Linked DNA regions of Homo sapiens: all the other regions are linked to region 1. Evidence: promoter capture Hi-C in 16 types of primary human blood cells and fetal thymus (Javierre and others, 2016). All regions are on one chromosome and are shown on one strand. Each heading gives the region's core, a stretch centred on a gene start or on the middle of the fragment in contact. The rest is flanking DNA. Distances are from core to core; before and after follow the strand shown. Region 1 holds the start of ADAMTS5 (ADAM metallopeptidase with thrombospondin type 1 motif 5). Region 2 holds the start of HEMK2 (HemK methyltransferase 2, ETF1 glutamine and histone H4 lysine). Region 3 has its middle 150 kb from the start of HEMK2. Region 4 has its middle 110 kb from the start of LINC00161. Region 5 has its middle 110 kb from the start of LINC01695. Region 6 has its middle 97 kb from the start of LINC01695. Region 7 overlaps LINC01695 (long intergenic non-protein coding RNA 1695).

Region 1 (3,748 bases), core at 937-3,436:
TTCAAGCCGTCACTGTGTCTCATCAGGTGGGAGAATCCCTGGAGGTTATGAGTTCAAGACCATCAAAGAAAAGAGAATCTGTTGGAATTTCCTGAAATCCTAAATAACAAAATCTATCTGTGAATGAAAATAATTGTAATTAACAAATTTTAACCACTGTCACCTAAAATGCCTATTAAAATGATTCTTTGGCATGAACAATGACAAAATTGTTAAATTTATTGAATCAAGGTTGTATTAGAAATGGTGTTTAGTGCCAAATATTGGACTCCTTTTCACTGTAACTGGTTAAAAAGATAAAAGTTTGCTATTTGTAGGTGCAAAGCAAGGACCACAAAAGAGAACGGCTAATGCAAGGCTCAAAGGCCTTGGTGGGATAGAGAAAATGGCTGGAACCTCCTATTCTGACCCATCCAGCTGTTAGCATTGGCCTGGGTCAACTGGCCACTGAGAGGCTGAGGCATTGTGGAATTATAAAGCAATGGCCTTCAGCAATAGTAACTTCCTCCCTGGTCCTGATGTATTTCAGAATCTATCAGGGGCTGTTGGGTGTCCCTAAGGCCCCAGTGATTTCTTTATTTATAAGTTAAAACAAGATGATACATCTGCCCCTCACAAGACTCCAGAGGGTGTTCCCAGGCACACGGCAATGGGTATTGTTGCCGGGCAATTCTGAAATTCCTTCCAGAGGATTATTGCCACTCTAAGAACCTCCATCAAGCTCTGGACCCTCATGGTTCCCTCCCAGAGAAAGCGATCAGCTTGGGGCCCCATTAAGGCACCCGCCCTGCTATCCCCAGCGTAGCCAAAGTTAAACGTAGAAAAAGATGGAAATGTACAAATTACACCACATTCATTTTTCACTGGTGCATTAGTTAATTAGCCTGAAGAATAATTTGGGCATGGAGGGAGCTCTTACCCCTACAGTAGAAGGTAGACCTTCTAACCATAAGTCGTCGGGTTTTCCTTCTCCCTTCTTAGAATGATAATTAGAGGAAACAAAGAGGTCAGAGGAAACGAGTAGCAGTGATAATGTCACCCGCGTACTAATAAGCACCAATCTTCCTTCCGCCAAAAGTATTCTTTTTCTTCTAAAAGGAATTTCTGAGAATGAAGGTAGGTCAAGGCCTATGGCGATAAGTGGTTGCTTTAGAAGAGACAAAAACAGATATAGGAATTTATTATTAAAGTATCATTTAAGCAAAAAATAAAAGTATGAGCGCAAAATTTTAAAATCTTTCAGGGAAAAAAAATGAGCGGAATTCCCTCTAAGAGTTAACTCTTTCTCGCTCTGCCTTTTTAGAGCAAAGGAAGTTCCAGTGGGCTGGGAGTAAGGGACAGATTGTGGACCCTGACGAAAGGCGTGCTGGAGAAAGCTGGGAGCCCGCCGTTCGCACACAAAGCTGCGGAGTTCCCAAGCGGCGGGCGTTCTCGCCCCGGGGTACCGCAGCGCGCCAGGAAGCGCCCTGGGCTCTCTGGCTGTCCAGCCGCTCTGCTGGTGGCCGGGAGAAGTTAGTCACCCGGAGCCCGAATCCGGCGAGCGTCAAAGCATCAAGAGGCTGGAGAATGGGGAGGGAGGAAACCGGGTGCCGGGACGGAGGGGAGGAAGCGAAGGGAACGCGGTGGTTAGGGGACGCACGGGAAGCTGAAAAGCTCTGGCTGGTGGATGGAGTTGCACGGTCTGCGAGGCCAGAGCGCACGGGTGTGCAAAGGGGAAAAACTTGCGGCAGGAACTTCCCACCGAGGGCGAGAAAAGCAGGCAAGAAGGAGGCAGGGAGAGACTTGAAACGTCTCAATAACTTTAACCAAAACACCCGTTCAGGAGATGAGGTAAGCCAAGGTTAGCCAACCCCAATTGGTTGTGAAATATCAGACAGACCCGGAGCCGCTGTGGCTTTAAAAGTGGCCAAGGAAATCTGTTTTTCTTGCCCCATTACTTTTTATTTTCCCCTCTCCCCTCCTACCACCTCGCCGGGTCCCAGTCCCTTCCTCCTACTTCGTCTCCCTTTCCTCGATCACCCTCCTCTTTTGCCCTCCCCCATCTGATTAGGCGCGGACTGGGAAGGGTGGGAGTGGTGGGGGAAGCTCTCCCTTTAAGAGGCAGCGTGCAGTGACGAACTGTTGAAATTGCCATTGCAGGATGGCATGCCGCTATAAATTCATTGTTCCACCTCCTCGCATCTTCACAGCGCTCGCGCTGCTCTCGGCGCTCGCAGCTGCCGACTGGGGATGACGGCGGGCAGGAGGAGACCGCAGCCGAAGGGACACAGACACGCCGCTTCACCAGCTCGCCTCAGGCTGCCCCCCTGCATTTTTGTTTTAATTTTTACGGCTTTTTCCCCTCTCTTTCTTCCCTTCCTCCTGGTCCCAGCAGAGCCAAGGAAACCCACAAAATAAGAAAGGAAGTGGGCCCCGGAGCTTGGAACCTCCACAGCCGGCTTGTCCAGCGCAGCGCGGGGGCGGGAGGCTGCGCGCACCAGTTGCCAGCCCGGTGCGCGGTACCTTTCCTTACTTTTCTTGAAACAGCGATCGTGCCTGCATTTGGTGGTTTTTTGGTTTTTGTTTTTTTCCTTTTCCCGTATTTGCTGAATCTCCACTATCCGACTTTTTTTTTTTAATCTTTTCTTTCCCCCCCCCCCCACCCCACCTCTTTCTGGAGCACGAATCCAAACATTTTCCCAAGCAACAAAGAAAAGTTCGCACGCTGGCACCGCAGCCCGGACAGGCTGGCGCTGCTGCCGGGCCCCCCTCCCTCCGACACTTGACTCAATCCTGCAAGCAAGTGTGTGTGTGTCCCCATCCCCCGCCCCGTTAACTTCATAGCAAATAACAAATACCCATAAAGTCCCAGTCGCGCAGCCCCTCCCCGCGGGCAGCGCACTATGCTGCTCGGGTGGGCGTCCCTGCTGCTGTGCGCGTTCCGCCTGCCCCTGGCCGCGGTCGGCCCCGCCGCGACACCTGCCCAGGATAAAGCCGGGCAGCCTCCGACTGCTGCAGCAGCCGCCCAGCCCCGCCGGCGGCAGGGGGAGGAGGTGCAGGAGCGAGCCGAGCCTCCCGGCCACCCGCACCCCCTGGCGCAGCGGCGCAGGAGCAAGGGGCTGGTGCAGAACATCGACCAACTCTACTCCGGCGGCGGCAAGGTGGGCTACCTCGTCTACGCGGGCGGCCGGAGGTTCCTCTTGGACCTGGAGCGAGATGGTTCGGTGGGCATTGCTGGCTTCGTGCCCGCAGGAGGCGGGACGAGTGCGCCCTGGCGCCACCGGAGCCACTGCTTCTATCGGGGCACAGTGGACGGTAGTCCCCGCTCTCTGGCTGTCTTTGACCTCTGTGGGGGTCTCGACGGCTTCTTCGCGGTCAAGCACGCGCGCTACACCCTAAAGCCACTGCTGCGCGGACCCTGGGCGGAGGAAGAAAAGGGGCGCGTGTACGGGGATGGGTCCGCACGGATCCTGCACGTCTACACCCGCGAGGGCTTCAGCTTCGAGGCCCTGCCGCCGCGCGCCAGCTGCGAAACCCCCGCGTCCACACCGGAGGCCCACGAGCATGCTCCGGCGCACAGCAACCCGAGCGGACGCGCAGCACTGGCCTCGCAGCTCTTGGACCAGTCCGCTCTCTCGCCCGCTGGGGGCTCAGGACCGCAGACGTGGTGGCGGCGGCGGCGCCGCTCCATCTCCCGGGCCCGCCAGGTGGAGCTGCTTCTGGTGGCTGACGCGTCCATGGCGCGGTTGTATGGCCGGGGCCTGCAGCA
Region 2 (3,748 bases), core at 735-3,234, 1.9 Mb before region 1:
AGGCTGGGGATGGCACTACCACTGCTACTGTTGCCAAGGAAGTCTTCAAGAAGTTTAGCAAAGGTGCTAATCCAGTGGAAATCAAGAGAAGTGTGATGTTAGCTGTTGATGCTGTAATTGCTGAACTTAAAAAGCAGTCTAAACCTGTGACCACCCCTGAAGAAATTGCTCAGGTTGCTACAATTTCTGCAAATGGAGACAAAGAAATTGGCAACCTAATTTCCGATGCAATGAAAAAGGTCAGAAGAAAGGGTTTCACCACAGTAAAGATGGAAAAACGCTACCGATGAATTAGAAATTATTGAAGGCATGAGGCCAGGTGTGGTGGCTCACGCCTATAATCCCAGCACTTTGGGAGGCGGAGGTGGGCGGATCACGAGGTCAGGAGATTGAGACCATCCTGGCTAACACGGTGAAACCCCGTCTCTACTAAAAATACAAAAAATTAGCCGGGTGTGGTGGCATGCACCTGTAGTCCCAGCTACTCAGGAGGCTGAGGCAGGAGAATTGCTTGAACCCAGGAGGTGGAGGTTGCAGTGAGCCGAGATTGTGCCACTGCACTCCAGCCTGGGTGACAGAGTGAGACTCCATCTAAAAAAAAAGAAAAAAAAAAAAGAAATTATTGAAGGCATGAAAGTTTGAGGATATATTTCTCCATACTTTATTAATACATCAAAAGGTCGGAAATGTGAATTCCAAGAAAATTTCTAGTGTCCAGTCCATTGTACCTGATCTTGAAATTGCCAATGCTCACCGTAAGCTTTTGGTCATAATTGCTGAAAATGTTGATGGAGAAACTCTAAGTACACTCATTTTGAATAGGCGAAAACTTGGTCTTCAGGTTGTAGCAGTCAAAGCTCCAGGGTTTGGTGACAATAGAAAGAACCACCTTAAAGGTATGACAATTGCTACTGGTGGTGCAGTGTTTGGAGAAGAGGAGTTGACCTCAAATCTTGAAGATGTTCAGCCTCATGACTTAGGAGAAGTTGGAGAGGTCACTGTGATCAAAGATGATGCTATGCTCTTAAAAGGAAAAGGTGACAAGGCTCAAATTTAAAAACGTATTCAAGAAATCATTGAGCAGTTGGATGTCACAACTAGTGAATATGAAAAGGAAAAACTGAATGAACAGCTGGCAAAACTTTCAGATGGAGTAGCTGTGCTGAAGGTTAGTGGGACAAGTCACGTTGAAGTGAATGAAAAGAAAAACAGAGTTACAGATGCCCTTAATGCTACAAGAGCTGCTGTTGAAGAAGGCATTGTTCTGGGAGGGGGTTGTACCCTACTTCGATGAATTGGTGCCTTGGACTCATTGACTCCAGCTAATGAAGATCAAAAAATTGGTACAGAAACTATTAAGAAAACACTCAAAATTCCTGCAATGACTATTGCTAAAAATGCGGGTGTTGAAGGATCTTTGATAGTCCAGAAAATTATGCAGTTCCTGAGAAGCTGGTTGTGATGCCACGGTCAGATTTTGTGAATATGGTGGAAAAAAGGAATTATTGACAAAACAAAGGTTGTGAGAAGTGCTTTACTGGATGCTGCTGGGGTGGCCTGTTAACTACAGCAGAAGTTGTAGTCAAAGAAATTCCTAAAAAAAGAGAAGGACCCTGTATTGGGTGCAATGGGTGGAACGGGAGGTGTTATGGGAAATGGCAAGTTCTAATGATTAGAATAGCGTTTTACTTTAATTAATGAACTGTGGCAGGAAGCCCAAGGCAGTATTCCTCACCAATAACTTCAGAGAAGTCAGCTGGAGAAAACGACTGAAGAAAAGGCTAGCAGATGTTTAGGAAATCACTATAACAATCAGTTACTGGTTTCAAGTGACAAAATATATAATGTTTTACTGCTGTCACTGTCCATGCCTACAGATAATTTATTTTGTATTTTTGGATAAAAAGACATTTGTATATTCCTAATACTGGGTGCGAGAGCACCTATGGTTCCAGTTCCAGCTACTCAGGAGGCTGAGGGAGGAGGATCGCTTGAACCCAGGAGATCAAGTACAACTCTTTCTATATATATATATTTTTCATATTTTTACATAATAAAATTCTATATGGCAGTTAAGAGGAGTAACCTAACCATATATCAAAACATAAATCTCATATAATGTTGACTGAAAAAGAAATTTGAAAAATATGTCCAACCTAGTACCAGTTATGTAAATTTTAAAATACACCGTATGTTGCTTATAAAGATATGAATGTTTATAAACGTATAAATACAAGATCCATGTTTTTACATGGATTAGATGGACATACACTAAATCCATAAGAGCCTTGGAGAGAATGTTACACAATTAAACTGAAGGCAAATAGAGAAAGAACATCCATCTTATTTGTAATATTTTAGTTCTTGTATTTAAAAAATATTTTAAGGAAACATGAGAAAATACTGTCATTTCTGGGTTTAAAACTTGGGGTTTTGAAATTTGTAACCCAGCCGGGTGCGTTAAAGGCTCACACCTGTAATCTCAGCACTTTGAGAGCCCAAGGCGGGTGGATCACCTGAAGTCAGCAGTTTGAGACCAGCCTGGCCAACATGGGGAAAATCCGTCTCTACTAAAAATACAAAAATTAGGCAGCCGTGGCTGCAGGCGCCTGTAATCCCAGCTACTCCGGAGGCTGAGGCAGGAGAACCGCTTGAACCTGGGAGGCAGAGGTTGCAGTGAGCCTAGCTCGCGCCACTGCACTCCAGCCTGGGGGATACAGCGAGACTCTGTCTCCAAAAAAAAAAAATACATAAGTAGAAATAAAATAAAATAAAATTTGTACCTCAAATACTTTTCTGTATTTTTATTTCTCAAATTTAAAAAACGAGCTGTAAAAATGTTTCATTGCGAAACAAATTTCAGAAATTGACTCAAAAAGAATGCAAATACTTGAATAGTCTAATAACTTACAGATGTTCCAAAACATCAAAGATCCATTCACTCAAAAAGGCACCAAGCCCAGCCAGTTTTAAGGCTTTCTACCTAATGTTCCAGAAACAGTGTCCTAACTCACATAACGAGGGTAGCGTAATCTTGGTAAAAAAAAACGGAGCCAGATTATTAGCCTCCCCAATTCAGCAGTGTATTAAACCGCATCATCTTGCTTAAGGTTTATAAAAAGAGTGCATTCATGATTCATCAGGAAGGCAATTTATAAAGTACAGTAAAAAAACGAGGAAAGTCTTCATCTTTATAGCGTAAAGCTTAAAGTTCAGCTGACAAAAAAACAGTAAAATTTATTATGTATTTTTTCAAATCCTTGCAAACTAGGAATAAAACAGAATTTCCAAATATCATTAGAATGAAGAAAGAACATTCACCTTAGTCAAAAACAACTCAGAATGCCCACTATCAGGTTCTAGTTCACAGAATAAAATTTAAATGTTCCAAAGAAGAAAGCAAATGTCAATAGTCACGGATTATACAACTGTCTACTTAGCAATTTCAAGGAGAGCCACTGACAAATTTAGAATTAAGACCCAACAACAACACACTGGTCGCCCGGGACGCCAGCCCCACTCCTAGGCCTGCGCATGAGGGTGAGGGCATGCGCATGCGCATGCGCACGCCCTGCGCACGCGCATGGAACGCAGCGAAGGACTATGGCAGGGGAGAACTTCGCTACGCCGTTCCACGGGCACGTGGGCCGCGGCGCCTTCAGCGACGTGTACGAGCCCGCGGAGGACACGTTTCTGCTTTTGGACGCGCTGGAGGCAGCGGCTGCCGAACTGGCAGGGTGCGAGGAGG
Region 3 (3,748 bases), core at 719-3,218, 1.8 Mb before region 1:
TGGGATTGTGCTTGGTTTGGAGCTGGCTTGGTGAGCATGAAAATGCTCTTCAGTTATCTTGGAGCTAACACATGTGTATATTAACCAAACAGAAACCAACTTAGGAAGTAAATTATAGTAGTAATTGTATTAGAGGTAAAGCATATATACAGTTATGAACAGTGCCCTGTGTCCAAAAAAATGCATTACATAATTTTCAAAAATGTAATGTATTTATTAACATACTTATCCATAGTCAGGTTCCACAGGAGCTAATTCTGAATATGGTTCACTCAAGGCCACTCTGCCCAGGAAGTTGGGCAGAAGGGATCAATTCCCTTAAGAGGCATTGATCTGTTAGGTTCTTTCTTGCCTATCTAGACTTGAGCAGACTCCAGAAGAATAAAGCCAATAATTTCTAGGAATTCAATCTTGTAAACTTCTGGGTCAGGTAAAGATAGCAGGTTGCTTTTGATAGTTTTTGGCCTCATTTGAATTCTAAGCTTATGAAAACACTGTAGTTGTGAAATACTTTAGCATGAAGCCGAGGCTGGTGAAGGAAGGGTACCTTTTCTCTCCCACAAAAATCCTCTCCAACTAGATTTGATATATTTTGCATGGATTAATTCATAAACAATCACTATTGCCCATATGGAAGCTATGATAGCCAACGGACTGTAAAGTAGGCTGAAATCTGCAGTTGGCCCTCAGGTTTTGACCCACTGTCATTTGAATTCCTGCTTTATGTCAGCTCTCATAGGGAATAAGACATTCCAAAGGGTTACCCACACAATAAAGGACTTTGTCTATGTTCATGTGTTTTGGCCAGTTTGAAAATCTTATTGCGTGGTCTGGGCTACACAAATAGACAAAAGTAAATAGAGAAACCTGCTTCATGGAATAGCTTTGGAAACTGTGGTTGCTAAGATATAGATAGGCTTTAAGTAGAGAGAATTTCCATTATAAATATACTAAAAGGATCAGAAAAGTGAATTTACATGAAAAACATACACTGGGTGTTTGGAAAGTGCTTTTTCTATAGACGGTGTGTAAAACGCATATCAAGGGAACTCTTTGGGGGAAGACAAGAATTTACACAAGGTGTTGGGATGAAAAATATTGCTAACTTGTTTTAATTATTGGCTGAAACTTGATGGAAAGAGGAAAAAATCCTCCAGATGATACAAAGTAGACCTTTCTTCTCATGCTCCATAGAGGTCTTTCGGGAAAAATTTCCCATTTCTACTTATGTTTGGAAAACCTTGGGTGTGTATTTTCACTGTGTATTTAACCTTCTTTCCTGGCTTCTAGAACTGTGCTGTCCAATATGGTAGACACTGGCCATGTGTTGCTTTTGAGCACTTAAAATGTGGCTACTGTCGCTGAAAAACAGAATTGTTAATTTTATTGAATTTTAGTTAATTTAAATTTGAATAGGCACCTAGGGCTAATGGCTATAGGGACAGTACAGATAGAGAACATTTCCATCATCACAGAAAGTTCTGTTTAGACAGCACCCTGCTCTGGAGGGTGACCGGACAGTAATTTTTGCTCATAAGACTTGTTTTTAATATTGAAGATTTAGTTTTCTCCCAACTGATGAAGTTTAGGGAAAAATGCCACGAAGATGGCATTCAGATCTTATTAACATTTTCTCACTACTTATTTTTTCCCTCAGTTCTGAGTAATTCTGTCTATTTTTATCTATACCATATTATATTTAGTTCCTTCTAATGTAATTAAACAAAAATATCTTAATTTCAGAAAACACTTCTTTAATTAGTTGTGTTTGAAATGTCCTTACTAATCCTTACTATAATAACTGAATGGCCAATTTCATAGCCTCAGTGGGAAAAACGAAAAAAGAGAAAGACCTGTGTTCTTGATCTGTGCCAAACAGGAAAATACTGTGGTTCAGCAATAGAAAATGAAGAGGGAGGAAATGTTTCAGGTCATCAAATGGGGTCAGAAATACGCATGTCAATGTACTTTTGCTGCTCTCGCGAATTTCTCAAAAGGGTATCTGTGAATACCTAATTTAGGTTTTTTTGGTTTCATTTTAAGTACACATGAGCTTCTGGAAAGGGCGATATTTATATATTTTTTTCACTGTGGTTTACGATCCAGTGTAGGTATATTTCAGGATGTCACTCACAATTTCAATGTGGTCATAGAATTATTCAGAGAAAGCTAATTGAAAGCAAAATGCATTAAAATGACTAGGATTAAGCTGCCCACGGACACCAACTGTCTTGTTTTGTCCCCATTGTAAACACAAGTGCCCCAGAAGTGCATGTGCTGAAGTTGGCCTCTGTTGAATGAATGCATTTAAATGTGGAAGTTTTTGTATTATTATAGGATAAGAAATGTTGCAATTGCAAAAATGTTGGGGACTAGAGCCATCTCTGGGAGGTTTTCCTAGGACGTAAGCTCTGTTGTTTCGGAGTTCAGGGAGTGGGGCAGTGACCTGCATAAAGAGCCCCCAGGGAGAAGGCCCAGGGTCCTGGCTTCTCCGTGGGACTGTTTCCCGGGTCACAGAAAGGGAGACCCAAGTGTCAGAGATGGGCAGATTGAACTGTCCCTGCCGGTGTTTACAAGAGACACTTGACCTTGATGGAAAGCAGAGGGAGGACAGCAAGAGGGAGACGTTCTCTGTGTCCACATCAGCACCCTTTCCCCCTTCCTTGCCCTTTATCTTGTCTCATCCTTACCTTGTTGGAAAAACACATTGGCAACATCACAGCCCACTCAAAAGGTTGCCAACACCTTCTCCCAATAATAGCGATCAACATATGTAATAGACTTCAGCTGTCTTTTTGGGAGATCTGGCAACAAACTTAACTGAAAAAAGTCAGATTTTTACAAAGAAACACTGCTTTATTGCTTAAATGTGGAAATAATACAGAACACCAGCTAAGCTAATAGCTTTCTGAGAAAGAAAGTTCAAAGTGTCCATTGCTACTTCAATAACACATACATAAGTGGAAGGTGACCAAAAAGATGAACATGTAAAGAGGGGCCCTCATGTGTCGGCAAATTGTTGCTATTCTGAGCTCTCCACTTGCAGCAATTATCTAACTGTTGTTGGAAGAAGCTAAGAAACAATCCTCCAGCCCTCCCATAATGCCCTCTCCAAACAAATGAAAACACAGTGCAATTGGCTTTTCAGTGTTTGCTCCCAACCTGCCCCTTCCTGTGTTTCTCCCTGAACATGATTCTTTACTTCGTAGGTCATCCTCTCATCCTTGCATTCTTTGTGTATATTACTGGCTAGCTGCCAATCAGCAATGGACACCTCCCAGAGTTCTGGCAGACCTGGCTTGTGAAGTTAAGCAGGGCTTGGTGAATTTAGCTCACTTAACTGAGATATGAGAGCAGTGAAGTGATGTATGTAGAGAAAGGCACAGTTCTCCAGAGCTCTTGAGAATCCTTAAAATAAATATATGTTCCTTACAAATTTTCATCGTAAGCTTGGTGCACATTTCTAAGGCAGCTGGGGAATCATAGAGCAGCTCATCTTTTCTTCTTCTTTTTTTTTTTAACAGTCTATGGACTAATTAAGCTCTGAAAACCCATTAAAACACAAGTAGGCCATGATTTCAACACTTCTAAAGAAAAAAAGGCAGATTTTTGAATTCTCGTTTTCTCTGGCTCTGCCTCTAAAGCCTCAAAAACATTTTATAATAAGTGGATAAAACTCCACTGAGGGATTGGGCGTGGTGGCTCATGACTGTAATCCCAGAACTTTGGGAGGCTGAGGTGGGCAGAT
Region 4 (3,748 bases), core at 371-2,870, 1.5 Mb before region 1:
TGCCATATGAGCTCCAGTTGATTTGGTTGTGAAGTCTGGGTTGAGAGTTCTGTATCCACAGTGCATTAATCTTGAGATACATAAGCATCTGCAGTCAATTTAAGTAGCTTTTAGTTTTGGCTTTGGAGACAGGCAATTTCTCATATATTTCATGGAGAAGAAGAGAAGTTAGGATAAATTCCTAGACTATGTGTCCATAGTACACAAAACAGTAGGAATTTGTTGACCATCACTCATTTGATCAATTCTGATAGCCAGCATCTGTTTCTTTGCCTGAATTAATAAGCTTGGTGGCCTACATTGATCAAATTTACTGGAAAATTCCTAAATTGCAATTTCAATTTGTTTTGTATGAAAATGCCAATAGAAGGCACAATTAAAACAGATCTTCACATAATTAACAAAATAGGCCTTCATCAATTACTTGTGAATTTGGGGCAGAGTAAGCAACCAATGCTGAAATTAAGAAACCTTGTAAATAAGTCTCTCATGCATCTTTCATTAGAGAGCAACAGAAAACTATATTAGGCATGTGACCTTTTAATATATATTAAATATGTGTTCTGCTTTTAAAAATGTTTTAAAGAAAAGTTATTTATATAACTATGTATATAGTTATTTATATATATCTATCTATTTCTATGATGAGCTGTATAAGAAAAAATATAAATTGGTTGAGTTTCCCATTTCTATTTCTTTGTTAAAAAAAAAAGCCCATGTAGAAATTGTAATTATAGAAGGGCTTTTATATAGGTAGATCTTTGCACATAGATTCTGGCTAATGCACATAGATTTGGAAAGTCAAGTGGTTTAATGAACTAGAGGCTTCTTGGGAACCTCAGACTCTTTTTCAGACAATTTAAAAATTAAATCTTATATGAGGCTCAAGTGGGTCCAATAAAGAGAACTCTATTAAACTGCCTAAGTTCTGAACCAAGTGAGAAGACAAAAGATAAAAAAGAAGTGGAGCAAATTACCACATTTTTTTTAACCTAGTAAATCTGCTTTTGGAGAGTATGATTGCCAATTACAGCAGTCCTGGAAAACCACAAGTTTCCTCAATAGAGACAAGATCCTTTACAACATGGAGCAAAATGGCGCATATGAAAATTCATGCTACTTGCAAGCCTTACGCTTTTTAGATGAAGGAACTAGGAAGAGGGTGGGAAACATTTGTTCAGTTTCCCCTTCCAAACTCAATAACCAGTTTGTGGCCTGCTACTCCTTGAGGAATGAGTGCAGACACCGCAGAGACCCTGCACTGAAGTGAGCATTACTGGTGCCCGCTTCAAATGTAAAAGGCATGGAGTAGTCATTTACCCTTTACTGTGATAGGTTTAGTTAAATTTACTCATTAAGTATATTGTGGTACATAAAATAAGATTAGTTGTCTTAGTAGTGTGTTAATACTTATACAATGTTAAGTTTTTGGCTATGTTGAATTACTGAAATATCTTTTCCAAATCCTCTTCTTTTTGCAAACATACTCAATTGCAACAGACAAGACACATTTATCAGAGTTTCTGTGCTAAATATTTTCCTAAAGGGATAGTAACATTATCAAAATTATTATTCACAACTCAGGGCACATAGCTAAGAAAACTAAGATCGTGGTTTTTATGGAAAACTTCCAAATGAAAACTAAAAACACCAATATACAGATATGTTTGTATATGCAGACACTCGGTATTTTGGGAACTAAAGATCCAAATATTTGGGACAGGGCACAGTGGCACATGCCTGTAATCCTAGCACTTTGGGAGGCTGAGGTGGTTCACGTGAGCCCATAAGTTTGAGACCAGCCTGAGCAACGTAGTGAGACCTCATGTCTACAAAAAATAAAAAAAAAATTAGCTGTGTATGGTGATACAAGTCTGTAGTCCCAGCTACTTGGGAGGTTCAGGTGGGAGGACCACGTGAGCCCAGAAGGTCAAGGCTGCAGTGAGCTATGATTGCACCACTGCACTCCAGCCTGGATAACAGATCAAGACCCTGTTTAAAAAAATGAGTATTTGCTAAATTTTTCCACCTTTTGTCTGTGTGCATACCATGAGAACTTGACTATTTACATCATGTGTCTTAAATGAATAAGTATCTTCACCAACATCTATGCATTTTATCAAGACTTTATAAATTAGATTTGTTTATGAGGCACTTTTGTATTTTAAATTGAATATATAAGGAGTTACACTGTGAGCATAACACCTAAGGCTCCTTCTGTATATGTGTTCTCTGACTGCAGACTTAGAAGGTAGGAGATTTGGAGGGTCATAAGTGAGTGGGTCATGAAGGCCAAAGGTACATTACTGAATCAACTTGCAAACTGTGAGAAATGCTTGTTAGTTTAAAAGTAGTTTTAAAGATAAAACACTAATGATTAGCCACATGATTTTTGATAATATGACTTGCCCTTTTGAATTTCCACTAAACAAATAATTTTAGGATTAAGATTTTAGGTTAAACATGCTTTAAGCTAATAAGCATTTATCAATTGACCTTTCTAGATACATTTTATTTCCTTGGTGCACAGGATAGATAAGAAAATCCAAAGGAGTATGAATGAAAACAGTTACTGATTGCATTTCAAAATGAAGAAATTAAATTGTGTTTAATTTCTTTTATCCTTTGCCACTATTTGCATAGCTTTCATTATTTAAAGGGCCCAGCAAAAAATACTGCTTGTATGAATTAGCAGTAAACTTTTTCACTTGTTCACTTGCTACAGCTTTAAGCAATACATGTTTAATCAGAAACAGGCTAATTGTTTTTCAGATTTGTGTTGTGGTCTCTTGGCTTCCTGAGGAGGCATAAATAAAACCACTAAGCCACATCATAAAATACTTTATTTGCTTTGAGGTATTGGTTATTATTATTATGAGTGATATACATTCAGAAGAATGGACACGCTAAAAGACAACTGCGTCTTATGTTTCTTAACTGAGTGTAAATTTCTGGTTGTCCTACAGAACAATAAACTTTTGAAGACTGAATTTATGCAGTTTCAAGGCAAAAATTAGACATCAAAGTTGAGTTGAATGGTAGAGAGGTCAAGTAGTGGAGACGTGGGAGTATTATTCTGGGGTGATTTTGGGCTGTCTTTCTGGATATATATGAATTGAGTCATTAGCTGTTATTTGAACTTGAAACCATAATCTGAATGCATGGTACTTAGGATTGATGTGACCTCAATTTCCTTTTAACAGTGTTGAAACTGGGGTCTCTGGTCATCAGACTTTGTCATCTTCTATCTATATTCAACTTGAATGTGTAAATAAAGCAATGAATATTACTTTGTGCCTCTGTTGTTTATATAGGTGTTTATACACTCACAACTTCCTCTTGTTGAAGAGGTTGAAAAATTATTTGTACACTCACAACTTTCCTCTAGTTGAAGAGTTTGAAAAATTATTAATTATGTTTCCCAGATATGCTTGCAGCTGCGGTTTAGAAGAAATGACGATCCACCAATTAGACTGATTTCCATGAAATCTGAAAGGCGGGTGTGAGGGAGAAGTCATCCTTTTGTAGCTTTTAGCTGTTGCTGCTGGCCAGTGAGATCATGAAGATAGGAGGTCTCCTTAATTCAGCGCTCCACTGTCCATTCTCAAGCTTCCATGGTGTCAAGAAGCAGGGGCAGAGGTGCTGGCGTCATGATCTGGCTTTCCAGTCTCAGAATCACAGCTCCCAGTATTCATTCTCTTAGCTTTTTGGATGTGGGAAGGACCCTGGAGCCATGTCAGTGGAACGT
Region 5 (3,748 bases), core at 894-3,393, 1.4 Mb before region 1:
AGTAATTATCTCTCCCTAGGGCACACATATTGTTCCAAGGATGGTAAAAACGGTGAACTCTTGTAGTCTTAAATTGCTATCCATTAAAGAAAGGCCTTCTTTCCTTGAGTTGTAGTGGTCTGGATACTACTCACTCTGTGCCTTCTGTTGAGACTACGAATTATAGCTTAAAGATAGCCTAGCAAAAGATTTTTAAAAGTCACAAGGAGAAACAAATGGTTGGAAAGTGCCAAATTTGCATTGACTTTATTCTTCTTTATTCCCTTCTCACTGTGATGTGCTGTTCTCTGCCTCTGCTCCATGTCCACTCCGTTTGGATTGTCCCTGATTTTCTCATCCAGGAACTCTCATAGCAACTAAATGTGATATAAAGGAACTCCCAGGCACTGCATTACAACCCTAAGTTGTTCCTATATATTGCATGAAGAGCAGGTAAAAAGAAAATAGAAAGAAGTTTGGGTGCAAAGTCATCTTTAGTTCCTATATCTTTTGGACTTTAAATTGTTTGACCTCTTCTCATGTCACTGCCTACTGTCTTTATGGCAATTTACTATAAAGTCATCACATATGTCCTCTAGATAGAAATTTGATCATTCTAATTCAATTGCACTAAATAATATCATTTAAATTTGAAATGGGTCATTATGTGTGATGAGTAATCCATTGTTGGTGCTATTGCAATGTGGTCAAGTTTATAATTTCATCAGGATGCTAATTTTTAAATATAATAGTTGCATTAACATTTTAACCTTGCTATGATGGATTAATAGTTGGAAGACAATTGTTTCAATGCTCCAAACAAAACAAAACAAACCAACCAGTGTCAAGTTTCTTTTCTTTTCTTTTTTTTTTTTTTGAGATGGAGTTTCACTCCGTCACCCAGGCTGGAGTACAGTAGCGTGATCTCGGCTCACTGCAACCTATGGCCCCAGGTTCAAGCGATTCTCCTGCCTTAGCCTCCAGAGTAGCTGGGATTACAGGTGTCTGCCACCACACCTATAACACACCACACTGCCAACACACTTGTGTTTTTAGTGGAGACGGGGTTTCACCATGTTGGTTGGGCTGGTCTCCAACTCCTGACCTCAAGTGATCCGCCCACCTTGGGCTCCCAAAGTGCTGGGATTACAGACATAACCCACCACACCTGGCCCCAGTGACAATTTTCTAATGGACATTCTTTTAGACATAAAGTCTTTCTCTAAATTTTAGGAATATACTAAGATTCTTTTCTCAAAATAATTAACTCATGAATAAAAAAAAGGTGATCTATGGGTGATATCGTTTGGCTATGTCCCCACCGAAATCTCAACTTGAATTGTAATCCTCATAACACCCCCATGTGAGAAGAACCCAGTGGAGGTAATTGAATCATAGGGGAGGTTTCTCCCAGTTGTTCTTGTGATAGTGAGTTCTCACGAGATCTGATGGCTTTATAAGTGTATTAGTCTGTTCTCACACTGCTAATAAAGACATACCTGAGACTGGGTAATTTATGAAGGAAAGAGGCTTAACAGACTCACAGTTCAGCATGGCTGGGGAGGCCTCACAATCATAGCGGAAGGCAAAGGAGAAGCAATGGTACGTCTTACATGGTGGCAGGCAAGAAAGCACGTGCAGGGAATCTCCTCTTTATAAAACCATCAGATCTTGTGAGACTTATTCACTATTTCGAGAACAGGACAGGAAAGGCCAGGCCCCACAATTCAATTACCTCCCACTGGGTACCTCCCATGACACATGGAGGTTATGGGAGCTAAAATTCAACATGAGATTTTGGTGGGGACACAGTCAAACCACATCATAGGAGCATCCAGCATTTCCCCTCCTGGCACTCATTCTATCTCCTGCAACCCTGTAAAGAGGTGCCTTCCGCCATGATTGTAAGTTTCCTGAGGACCCCCACCCCGCTGCCAGCCATGCAGAAATGTGAGTCAATTAAACCTCTTTTCTTTATAAATTACCAGCCTTGGGTATTTCTTCATAGCAGGGTGAGAACAGAATAATACAATCTTTTGTAAAATATGATCTCTAGTGATACCTCAAAATAGAGTTTTCAAAGCTTATTAGATTTTAATTGAGGAGAGGTTGGACTTCATGTATTTTATTATGCATTTTAAACATCCAAGGTTCAGAATAGCATGAAAATTCCCAGAGTTAGAACAAAAAATGCAAAAGATTATTGATTAATTCTGAGGATCATAAGCCAAAGAAGGAAAGCTTATTTAGTGAATTTTCATACATCACTAATTATATCCCATTTATGCAAAAGATTACTGACTAAACTTCGATGCATAAATAAGGATCTATCAAAATTTAAGTCAATAGAATGGCTGTCATGGGTTTTAACCTACAGGGCTGTTTAGTGGTAGGAAGAACTCTTGTGGCTTTATTCTGAGATAGGGCCCTCTTCGAAAGAAGCTCAGCACCATGGGAACTCATTTGAAACAGCTGCAGGCCCTCTGCTTTTTCATCTGTTGCCTTAAACTTCTTGTATTTTGACTAGCATGTCAAATTCATGGCTTCTGCTGTCTTCCTAGACAAATCTTTCATGACAAAGGAAAAACATTGCTGTGGTATCTCAGATCTCTCTCACTGAGCTTCAAAGAGCAAACAGTTAGAAGCCATATGGCAAAGTATGCTTTCTGTTAAATCTCTTGTTGGTCATTTCCCCTTCTAGGTTTCAATGAGTGTAATCCAAGATTGTGCTCAACAATCTTGTGTGAACCACAACAATTTCAGTGTGAGCCACACTGAATTCCTGGAGATGTGATCAAATCAAAACCCTACCTATTGTGTCTGGAAAAAAAGCCACATAGTGCTACCAAGTTTCGATTATAATTCTGTGTTCACAATCAAATTGTCATTGAAAGTCTCTTTTCTCTAAATATAATTTTAAAACATGTGTCTCAAGTTAGTAAGTGGGGTATATTATATGATTCCAAAGTTATGGCATATTTTTTATTTTTTAAGGAAGTTCTTTATATGTGATATGAAACTTCCCACTAAAACCAACAACTAGAAAATGTTTGAGAAACAAGGCATAATTTTCTTATGTTTTCCTCAAACATTTTCTAGTTGCATGCCTTAGAAATTTCAACTTTGAAAATCTGTTTTGCAAGATATATTCTTACAAATAACAATTATTTAAAGAAACTTATTGATTATATATGCTTAAGGGTATGGCAAATTTAAAATAGTATTTGTTATTCTGAGTAAAACTTAGAATAAATTTGTAGCGTTATCGGAAAGACTGGTTTATTTACTTATCTTAATCAATTTCTTTTTTTTATTTTAAATGTCTATCTAATGCAAAGAAGCCAATTATTCAAACTGGCATTTTAAATATATATAGTATATAACACGTATAATATATAAGAAAGAAAAATATTCATTTGGTCAGATTTTCAGAAATTTGAATTAATTTCAAAAACGCTGGCCGTGCGCGGTGACTCATGACTGTAATCCCAGCACTTTGGGAGGCCAAGGCGGGTGGATCACGAGGTCAGGAGGTCAAAACCATCCTGGCTAACATGGTAAAACCCCATCTCTACAAAAAAATACAAAAAATTAGCTGAGAGTGGTGGCAGGCGCCTGCAGTCCCAGCTACTCAGGAGGCTGAGGCAGGAGAATGGCATGAACCTGGGAGGCGGAGTTTGCAGTGAGTTGAGATTGCGCCACTACACTCCAGTCTGGGTGATAGAGTGAGACTCCGTCTCAAAAAAAAAAAAAAAAAAAGTTGCTTCGT
Region 6 (3,748 bases), core at 528-3,027, 1.4 Mb before region 1:
TTACCCAAAGCAAGTGTTCAATATGCAAAGAGATACTTTTAAATTGCCAACACAGTCATTTTTAATTAGTGGACATTCTTTGTCAGGAAAATGAAGTTTCACATTCCTTTGGGTGTGAAATTGTTTATTAATATGTTCTAGTTTCTTCTGAAAAACAAAAAAAATCCGTTTTAGGAATAAAACTTAGGAATAACTTAAGCTTCAATTTCTGATACTCAGATTATTGTTTGGGAACAAGTCATCATTGTATTAAATCTGTTTCTCATCACAAAGGGAGTATCTATTACCTGAATAAATACTTTTAAGATATTTTTGCATGTAATTTAAGTCATGTCCTTGCCATGAGCCAGGGTACCACACATTAAGAGATTATTCAGAGGAGCTCAGAAACAGCAATGATTAAGAAATTTTAAGTAGATTTGTAGCACAGTAATGGGTTTTCAATCCTTTAATTTTACTTACCATCTCTACAAAGAAGGTTTGAGATTGACTTTGACTTCACATATTTCCATATTTTCAAAATTACAGAAATGGATCTTTTTTACTAGTCGAACATCCAGAATTAAAGTGAGCAGCTCATGAAACAGGCAAAGAAAACACAGTTGAATCAATCAACTTAGTATTAAATCTTGTGGGTAAAAAGCCAGTACTAAGGAAGTGGCCACCAGGAATTTGACTGTTCCCACTGATAATGGAATTTGGGAAGGGCTACTAATCACATGGTTTTGCCCTCCCTGGGCTCCAGAATCTTGATTATAACAGTCAGGTAACTTTATCCTCTGTAACCACCTTAGCTCATGCTGATTTAGTCTTCATCTTCTCTGTGGTTTGATCCTTCTTGTCTCAGTAAAATTATTCCATTTTGTGTTCTCTCACATGAGTCATTTCCATTTCTAAAATCAGTATCTCTTAATGGTATTTTGCTTCCAGAAAGATGGAGTAGATATATTCCTGCTAAATCCAACTGAAAACCTTGAAAATTATATGTAAAACAAACCTAGGAAGACCTGAAAAGTGTAAAGAAGTAGGAAAACTAGCTAAGGAACTTGAGGACCAAAGAATGACATGGTGGTAGGTTTTCTATGTTTTCTCTTTGCCTCACGTATTTCCGACGTGGAGCTACAGAAGCTGGAAAATCCCAGAAATGCCAAAGGATGCAAAAACAAAAATCCTTAACAAAAGCCTACTGGCTCTAGTCAAAGTTTCAGGAAAGACACATACTAGCAAGAAAGAAAACTTCTATATAATAACTCTTCCACCCTGACCAAATATCACAGAAAAAAATCTGTAGTCCACTTCCACCTTAGCTGGCAAAAGCTAAATGAGGAGCATAGATTTTCATTCTTTTTAAGCTATAAAGAGGTGTCTCAAACTCTCTCTAGGGTGATGTCAGAGAAGACTGAGTAGGAAGGTGTAACTTTGTTCTCTGCTAAGGATAATGAGTCACACTTGTGGCTCCTATTGTGTCAGTGAATACCACCTGAGGAGCTTTGCTTTTCACTCCCACCTGGTAATAAAGAAGAATGCTCTTTCTGGTGGTGGTAGAAAAGGCCTAGAGGAGAGTCTGTACTTTCATCATTGCCCATTTTCCCCTCCCTATGGTGTCAGTGGAGGCCACATGGGGAGCAATAACAAAAGCACGCCCATATGATATCAGCAAATGTCTAGTGGGGGCATGAAAATCCCTCACTTGCCCAACAGTAACAAGGAGCTTTTCTCCTCTTTGACTATTAATAGAGGATAAGTAGGGAACTTGAAATTCTATCCTCACTTGCCTTCTGTCCCTGTAGAGGAAACCAACTGAGTAGGTTTACATAGGATCCAGTCTCATAGTTCCAAAGGGTTCAGGTTTTAACAGAATATCACATGTCACAAAATGGCCAGGAATACTTCTAACTGAATGAAGAAAGAAATCAAGAGATGTCAACACCAATACAATGTAGATACTGGAATTATGTGACAAATCATTATAAAAATGCTTCTGAAAGTAATTACAAATAAACTGGAAATAAATTAAAAGAGAAAAGTCTTAGTAAAGAAATAGAAGATAAAATAAGAGCGAGATGAAAATTTTAAAGCTAAAAAATACACTAACCAAAATAGAAAACTCAGTGGATTAGTTCAACAGCAGAATAATGAGGATAGAAGGATGGATAAGTAAACAGGATTAGAGTTCCAGAAGGAAAGAACAAAGAAGGGAGGGGTAAAAAAAATACACAAAAAAATGACCAAAAACTTCCCAAATCTGGCAAAATACATAAACCTACAGATTCAAGAAGCTGAGAAAAAACCCATACAATATAAACCCAGAAAAGTCTGCATGAAGATATATCATACTCAAACTTGTAAAAACTAAAGGCAAATACAAATGATAGAAGCAACTGGGGAGAAATGACATTTTGGCTATAGGAGTAAAACAATTTGAATGATATTAACTTTTCAATCAGAAATCAGTGCGTCAGCATTTTTTTAAGTGCTGAAAGAAAACTGTCAGCTCAAAATTCTAAATACCATTTACATTTCTATTAAGAATCAAAGCTAAATGATGACATTCTCTGAAGAAGGAAAGCTAAGAGAATTTATCACCGGCAGATATATTCTAAAAGAATGACTAAAGGAAATTATCCATGTTAGTTAGCATAGGCTATTAATATACCATAGTCTGGATGGCTTAAACAACAGACATATTTTCTCACAGTTTTGGAGGCTAGGGGTCTCGGACAAAGACACCAGCATGGTTGGTTTCTGGTGAGGTTTCTCTTTCCTTCTTGTAGGCAGCTGCCATATTGTTGTGTGTTCACATGATCTCTTTGTGTGTGTGTGTGTGTGTGTGTGTGTGTGCAGAAAGAGAGAGAGACAGAGACAGAGAGGGCGGGAGAGACAGAGAGACAGCTTTCTAGTCTATCTTCTTAAAAGCACGCTAATCCTATTGTAAAAGTGCCCTAACTTTGTAACTTTATTTAACCTTAATTACCTCCTAATAGGTCCTGTCTTCAAATACGGTCACATTGGTGATTAGGACCTCAATCACCAATTTTATATATAAATTTTGAGGGGACATAATTCAGTGAGAATTCACTTCAAAATTGGGTCAGAATTTATCATTCACTAAACAGAAATGAAATGATAAAAAAAGAAATTTTGGAATATCAGAAAGAAACAACAAGAAACAGCAAAAATATGGATAAGTAAAAGACTTACTCATATTTTCTTCTTTTCTTGGGTTTTCTAAGTCATGATTGACAGTTGAGGCAAAAATTATTACACTGATGTGATTCTAATTGCTTAGAACAATATTAAAGACAATTATTTTATAAATGAAAGAGGAAAAAAGATGTGATGAGAGGAAAGCTTTAACGCTTCACTTTAATTGGTAAAATGTCAACATCAGTAGACTATAATAAGTTTTGTACTATAATACCTTGAGCAACCACTAAAAATGCTATAACAAGAGATATGTAAAAATTATAGTATATGCATCAAAATAAAATTCTAAAATAATTGTCACATTGCTCATAAAAAGGCAGGAAAAAAGAAAACAGGAAACAGAACAAAGAGAAAAGAGAGGGAGCAAAATAAAACTTAAATGGTAGATTTAAATGCCAGCATGTTAACAGTGACATTAAAAGTAAATAAATACACACATGAAAAGACAAAGATTTATAGGGTGGATTAAAAATATATGACTGAGCTATATGCTATAAAAACTCACTTCGAATACAATATAAATAAATTAAAAGTAAAAGGA
Region 7 (3,748 bases), core at 709-3,208, 1.3 Mb before region 1:
AAGGAAATAAAGGTAGTAAGTATATATTTTTGAAAAAGAAAATCCTAGTTAATGGTAATCGCTGTCCCTGAGATATAATACCCAAGAAAAAATAGAAAATTAGGACTGAAAGATATAACAGATGAAAGTTTCCCTTACATGAAGGAAGGACTAATTTTTTTTTAGGTCAAAGAGAAACACTATCTTCCAGAAAGTATGCATAAAACCTGACTTGTATTGGACATATCTTGGCAAGTTATCAACATTCCAGGATTAAAAAAAAAATCTTCAGGAACCCAGGCAAAAAAGCAAGACCGACTTCAAGAATGAAATAAAAAAAAATTCTAGCTATATGCAGAACCAAAAGAAAATGGGTAATTGTTTACAACGTTCTGAATGAGCTAAGAACATCACATGAGCCAAATTGATGTCATTTAAGCATGAAGTCAACATTTTCAGTATTCTAAGAATAGCAGCTAGCACCCACTGAATAGTTGCTCTGGGTTAAGTCCTTTTCTTTGGCCTTTACAGGTATTATTGCACTCAATCCTCATAATAATCTCACGAGAGAAGGTACAGTTGTTATGAACAGGTAACTCAATAGACCTCTCTGTGTCACCTAGCATTTCTCTGCTTAAACACTGGGAATTGGGGCCTGTGGTCAAGCAGAGCCTAAATTTGCAGAAATGGAAAAATACAGAACTTGCAAACAGGTTGTGATGGTTAATACTGAGGGTCAACTTGATTGTATTGAAAGATACAAAGTATTGATCCTGAGTGTGTCTGTGAAGGTGTTGCCAAAAGAGATTAGCATTTGAGTCAGTGGGCTGGGGAAGGCAGATCCACCCTTAATCTAGTGGGCACAATCTAATCAGCTGCCAATGGTAAAGCAGGCAGAAAAACGTGAAAAGGGGAGACTGGCCTAGCCTCCCAGCCTACGGCTTTCTCCTGTACTCGATGCTTCTTGCCCTTGAACATTGGACTCCAAGCTCTTCAGTTTTGGAACTTGTACTGGCTCCCCTTGCATGGTCTCCACTCCTGCCACCCTGCCTTCTCTTCCCCAGCCTGCAACAATGGCCTCAGAAGGAGTTCCCTATGATCATTTGACAGAGGAAGAGAAGACTATGGCCAGGTTCACAGATGGTTCTGCATGACATGCAGGCACCACCTGAAAGTGGACAGCTGCAGCACTACAGCCCCTTTCTAGGACATCCCTAAAGGACAACAGTGAAGGAAAATTTTCCCGGTGGGCAGAACTTCGAGCAGTGCACCTGGGTGTGCACTTTGCATGGAAGGAGAAATGACCAGATGTGTGATTATATACTGATTAATTGGTTGTAGCCAATGGTTTGGCTGGATAGTCAGGGACTTGGAAGAAGCATGATTGGAAAATTGGTGACAAAGAAATTTGGGGAAGAGGAATGAGGATGGACCTCTCTGAGTGGTCAAAAACCATGAAGATATTTGTATCCCATGTGAGTGCTCACCAACGGGTGACCTCAGTAGAGGAGGATTTTAATAATCAATTGGATAGGATGACCTGTTCTGTGGACACCACCCAGCCTCTTTCCCCAGCCACCCCTGTCATTGCCCAATGGGCCCATAAACAAAGTGGCCATGGTGGCAAGGATGGTTGTTATGCATGGGCTCAGCAACATGGACTTCCACTCACCAAGGCTGACCTGGCTGTGGTCACTGCTGAGTGCCCAATTTGCCAGCAGCAGAGACCAACACTGAGCCCTCGATATGACACCATTCCTTGGGGTGATCAGCCAGCTACTTGGTGACAGGTTGATTATGTTGGACCTCTTCCATCATGGAAAGGGCAGAGGTTTGTCCTCACTAGAATAGACACTTACTCTGGATATGGCTTTGCCTATCCTGTATGCAATGCTTCTGCCAAGGCTACCATCTGTGGACTCATGGAATGCCTTATCCACCATCATGGTATTCCACACAGCATTGCCTCTGACTAAGACACTCACTTTATGGCTAAAGAAGTATGGCAGTGGGCCCATGCTCATGGAATTCACTGGTCTTACCTTGTTCCCCATCATCCTGAAGCAGCATTGAGAGAATGGTGGAATGGCCTTTTGAAATCACAATTACAATTCCAACTAGTGACAATACTTTGCAGGGCTGGGCAAAGTTCTCCTGAAGACTGAGTTTGCTCTGAATCAGTGTCCAATATATGGTGGTGTTTCTCCTATATATCCAGGTTTCATGGGTCCAGCAATCGGGGGGGGACGTGGAAGCGGCACCACTCACCATCACCCCTAGTGATTCACTAGCAAAATTTTTGCTTCCTGTTCCTGTGACATTACGTTCTGCTGGCCTAGAGGTCTTAGTTCCGGAGGGAGGAACGCTGCCACCAGGAGACACAACAACAATTCCATTAATTTGGAAGTTAAGATTGCCACCTGGACACTTTGGGCTCTTGCTACCTTTGAGTCAACAGGCTAAGAAGGGAGTTACAGCGTTGGCTGGGTTGATTGACCCGGACTATTAAGATAAATCAGTCTACTACTGCATAATGGAAGTCAGGAAGAGTTTGCATAGAATGCAAGAGATCCATTAGGGTGTCTCTTAGTATTACCATGCCCTGTGATTAAAGTCAGTGGGAAACTACAACAGTCCATTCCAGGCAGGACTACAAATGGCCCAGACCCCTCAGGAGTGAAGGTTTGGGTCACTCCTCCAGGAAAAAAACCATGACCTGCTGAAGTGCTTTCTGACGGCAAAGGGAATACAGAATGGATAGTAGAAGAAGGTAGTCATCAATACGAGCTCCAACCATGTTACCAGCTGTGGAAACAAGGACTATAATTTTCATGAGAATTTCATTCTTCTTTTGTTAAAAACATGTTTGTCTATGTATACACTTGTACTAAGAAAATATTTTTATTTTATTTTATTTTATCATGTGACATAAGGTTTATTGACTTCATATCAGCATTTAAATATTGTTAACTTTTTGTATTAGTATTTGGGTTGGGGATTGGTGCATTTCCAGTTGTATGAAGGATAGTTGTATTATATCAGGCAGAATTACGACCTTATTATTATCTTTATTTGGAGATTATGATCTCAGGAGATGTGTATGGGTTCAAGTTGAGAAGAGGTGAAGTTGCGATGGTTAATACTGAATGTAAACTTGATTGGATTGAAGGATACAAATTATTGATGTTGGGTGTGTCTGTGAGGGTGTTGCCAAAAGAGAATAACATTTGAGTCAGTGGGCTGGGGAAGGCAGATCCACCCTTAATCTGGTGGGCAATTTAATCAGCTGACAGCAAATATAAAGCAGGCAGAACAATGTGAAAAGGAGAGACTGGCCTAGCCTCCCATCCCACATCTTTCTCCTGTGCTGGATGCTTCCTGACCTTGAACACTCGACTCCAAGTTCTTCAGTTTTGGGACTCAGACTGGCTCTCCTTGCTCTTCAGCTTACAGACAGTCTATTGTGGGACCTTGTGAACATGTAAGTTAATATTTAATAAAGTCCCATATATATATAATGTTATATTATATATGTTTATTTATTCTATTAGTTCTGTCCCTCTAGAGAACACTGACTAATACACAGGTCAATGGAAAAGATGAGTGGGGCCAATCCTACATCTGCCCTTTGGATATTGGAGTCAAGTAGTCTAGCATATGGGTACACACCATCATATATTGGCCATTGGTTCAGTGCATAAAGCATCTCCTGGACCAGAATGTCCAGCTCCACAAGAGAGGCACAATCAAGGCCTGGCTTAAAGACAGT

The links. Contacts are between HindIII fragments. The CHiCAGO score rates a contact against its expected background, and 5 or more counts as called.
Region 2: a fragment that was not itself captured here is called in contact with the fragment with the promoter of ADAMTS5 in region 1 in 1 of 17 cell types (M2 macrophages); the score reaches 5.6 in M2 macrophages.
Region 3: a contact is called between a fragment that was not itself captured here and the fragment with the promoter of ADAMTS5 in region 1, in 1 of 17 cell types (fetal thymus). The highest score is 5.9, in fetal thymus.
Region 4: a contact is called between a fragment that was not itself captured here and the fragment with the promoter of ADAMTS5 in region 1, in 1 of 17 cell types (erythroblasts). The highest score is 5.2, in erythroblasts.
Region 5: a fragment that was not itself captured here is called in contact with the fragment with the promoter of ADAMTS5 in region 1 in 2 of 17 cell types (M1 macrophages and M0 macrophages); the score reaches 8.6 in M1 macrophages.
Region 6: a fragment that was not itself captured here is called in contact with the fragment with the promoter of ADAMTS5 in region 1 in 3 of 17 cell types (M2 macrophages, M0 macrophages and M1 macrophages); the score reaches 7.9 in M2 macrophages.
Region 7: a contact is called between a fragment that was not itself captured here and the fragment with the promoter of ADAMTS5 in region 1, in 1 of 17 cell types (M1 macrophages). The highest score is 5.9, in M1 macrophages.

The regions. Positions count from the first base shown.
Region 1 is chr21:26,965,526-26,969,273 of GRCh38, reverse strand. It overlaps ADAMTS5 (ADAM metallopeptidase with thrombospondin type 1 motif 5), which reads left to right and starts at 2,186. Exons shown (of 8, transcript NM_007038.5): 1 at 2,186-3,748. The coding sequence starts at 2,883. LOC124905050 reads left to right here. Exons shown (of 3, transcript XM_047441063.1): 2 at 1,304-1,830; 3 at 2,190-2,618. The coding sequence ends at 2,618. The HindIII fragment of the contact is 6,499 bases long and covers 1-3,748 here.
Region 2 is chr21:28,885,201-28,888,948 of GRCh38, reverse strand. It overlaps HEMK2 (HemK methyltransferase 2, ETF1 glutamine and histone H4 lysine), which reads left to right and starts at 3,582. Exons shown (of 6, transcript NM_013240.6): 1 at 3,582-3,737. The coding sequence starts at 3,604. It also overlaps the pseudogene HSPD1P7. RefSeq lists enhancers at 3,165-3,723, 3,669-3,728, 3,724-3,748. The HindIII fragment of the contact is 2,444 bases long and covers 763-3,206 here.
Region 3 is chr21:28,737,364-28,741,111 of GRCh38, reverse strand. It overlaps a transcript of HEMK2 not described here. Among named protein-coding and RNA genes, the nearest start is that of HEMK2, 150 kb to the left of the region's middle. The HindIII fragment of the contact is 2,967 bases long and covers 485-3,451 here.
Region 4 is chr21:28,423,057-28,426,804 of GRCh38, reverse strand. No RefSeq gene overlaps it. Among named protein-coding and RNA genes, the nearest start is that of LINC00161, 110 kb to the left of the region's middle. The HindIII fragment of the contact is 3,983 bases long and covers 1-3,611 here.
Region 5 is chr21:28,341,270-28,345,017 of GRCh38, reverse strand. No RefSeq gene overlaps it. Among named protein-coding and RNA genes, the nearest start is that of LINC01695, 110 kb to the right of the region's middle. The HindIII fragment of the contact is 158 bases long and covers 2,065-2,222 here.
Region 6 is chr21:28,323,600-28,327,347 of GRCh38, reverse strand. No RefSeq gene overlaps it. Among named protein-coding and RNA genes, the nearest start is that of LINC01695, 97 kb to the right of the region's middle. RefSeq lists an enhancer at 1,202-1,816. The HindIII fragment of the contact is 3,152 bases long and covers 202-3,353 here.
Region 7 is chr21:28,217,466-28,221,213 of GRCh38, reverse strand. All of the region lies in intron 2 of LINC01695 (long intergenic non-protein coding RNA 1695), which reads left to right. Among named protein-coding and RNA genes, the nearest start is that of LINC01695, 9.3 kb to the left of the region's middle. The HindIII fragment of the contact is 6,620 bases long and covers 1-3,748 here.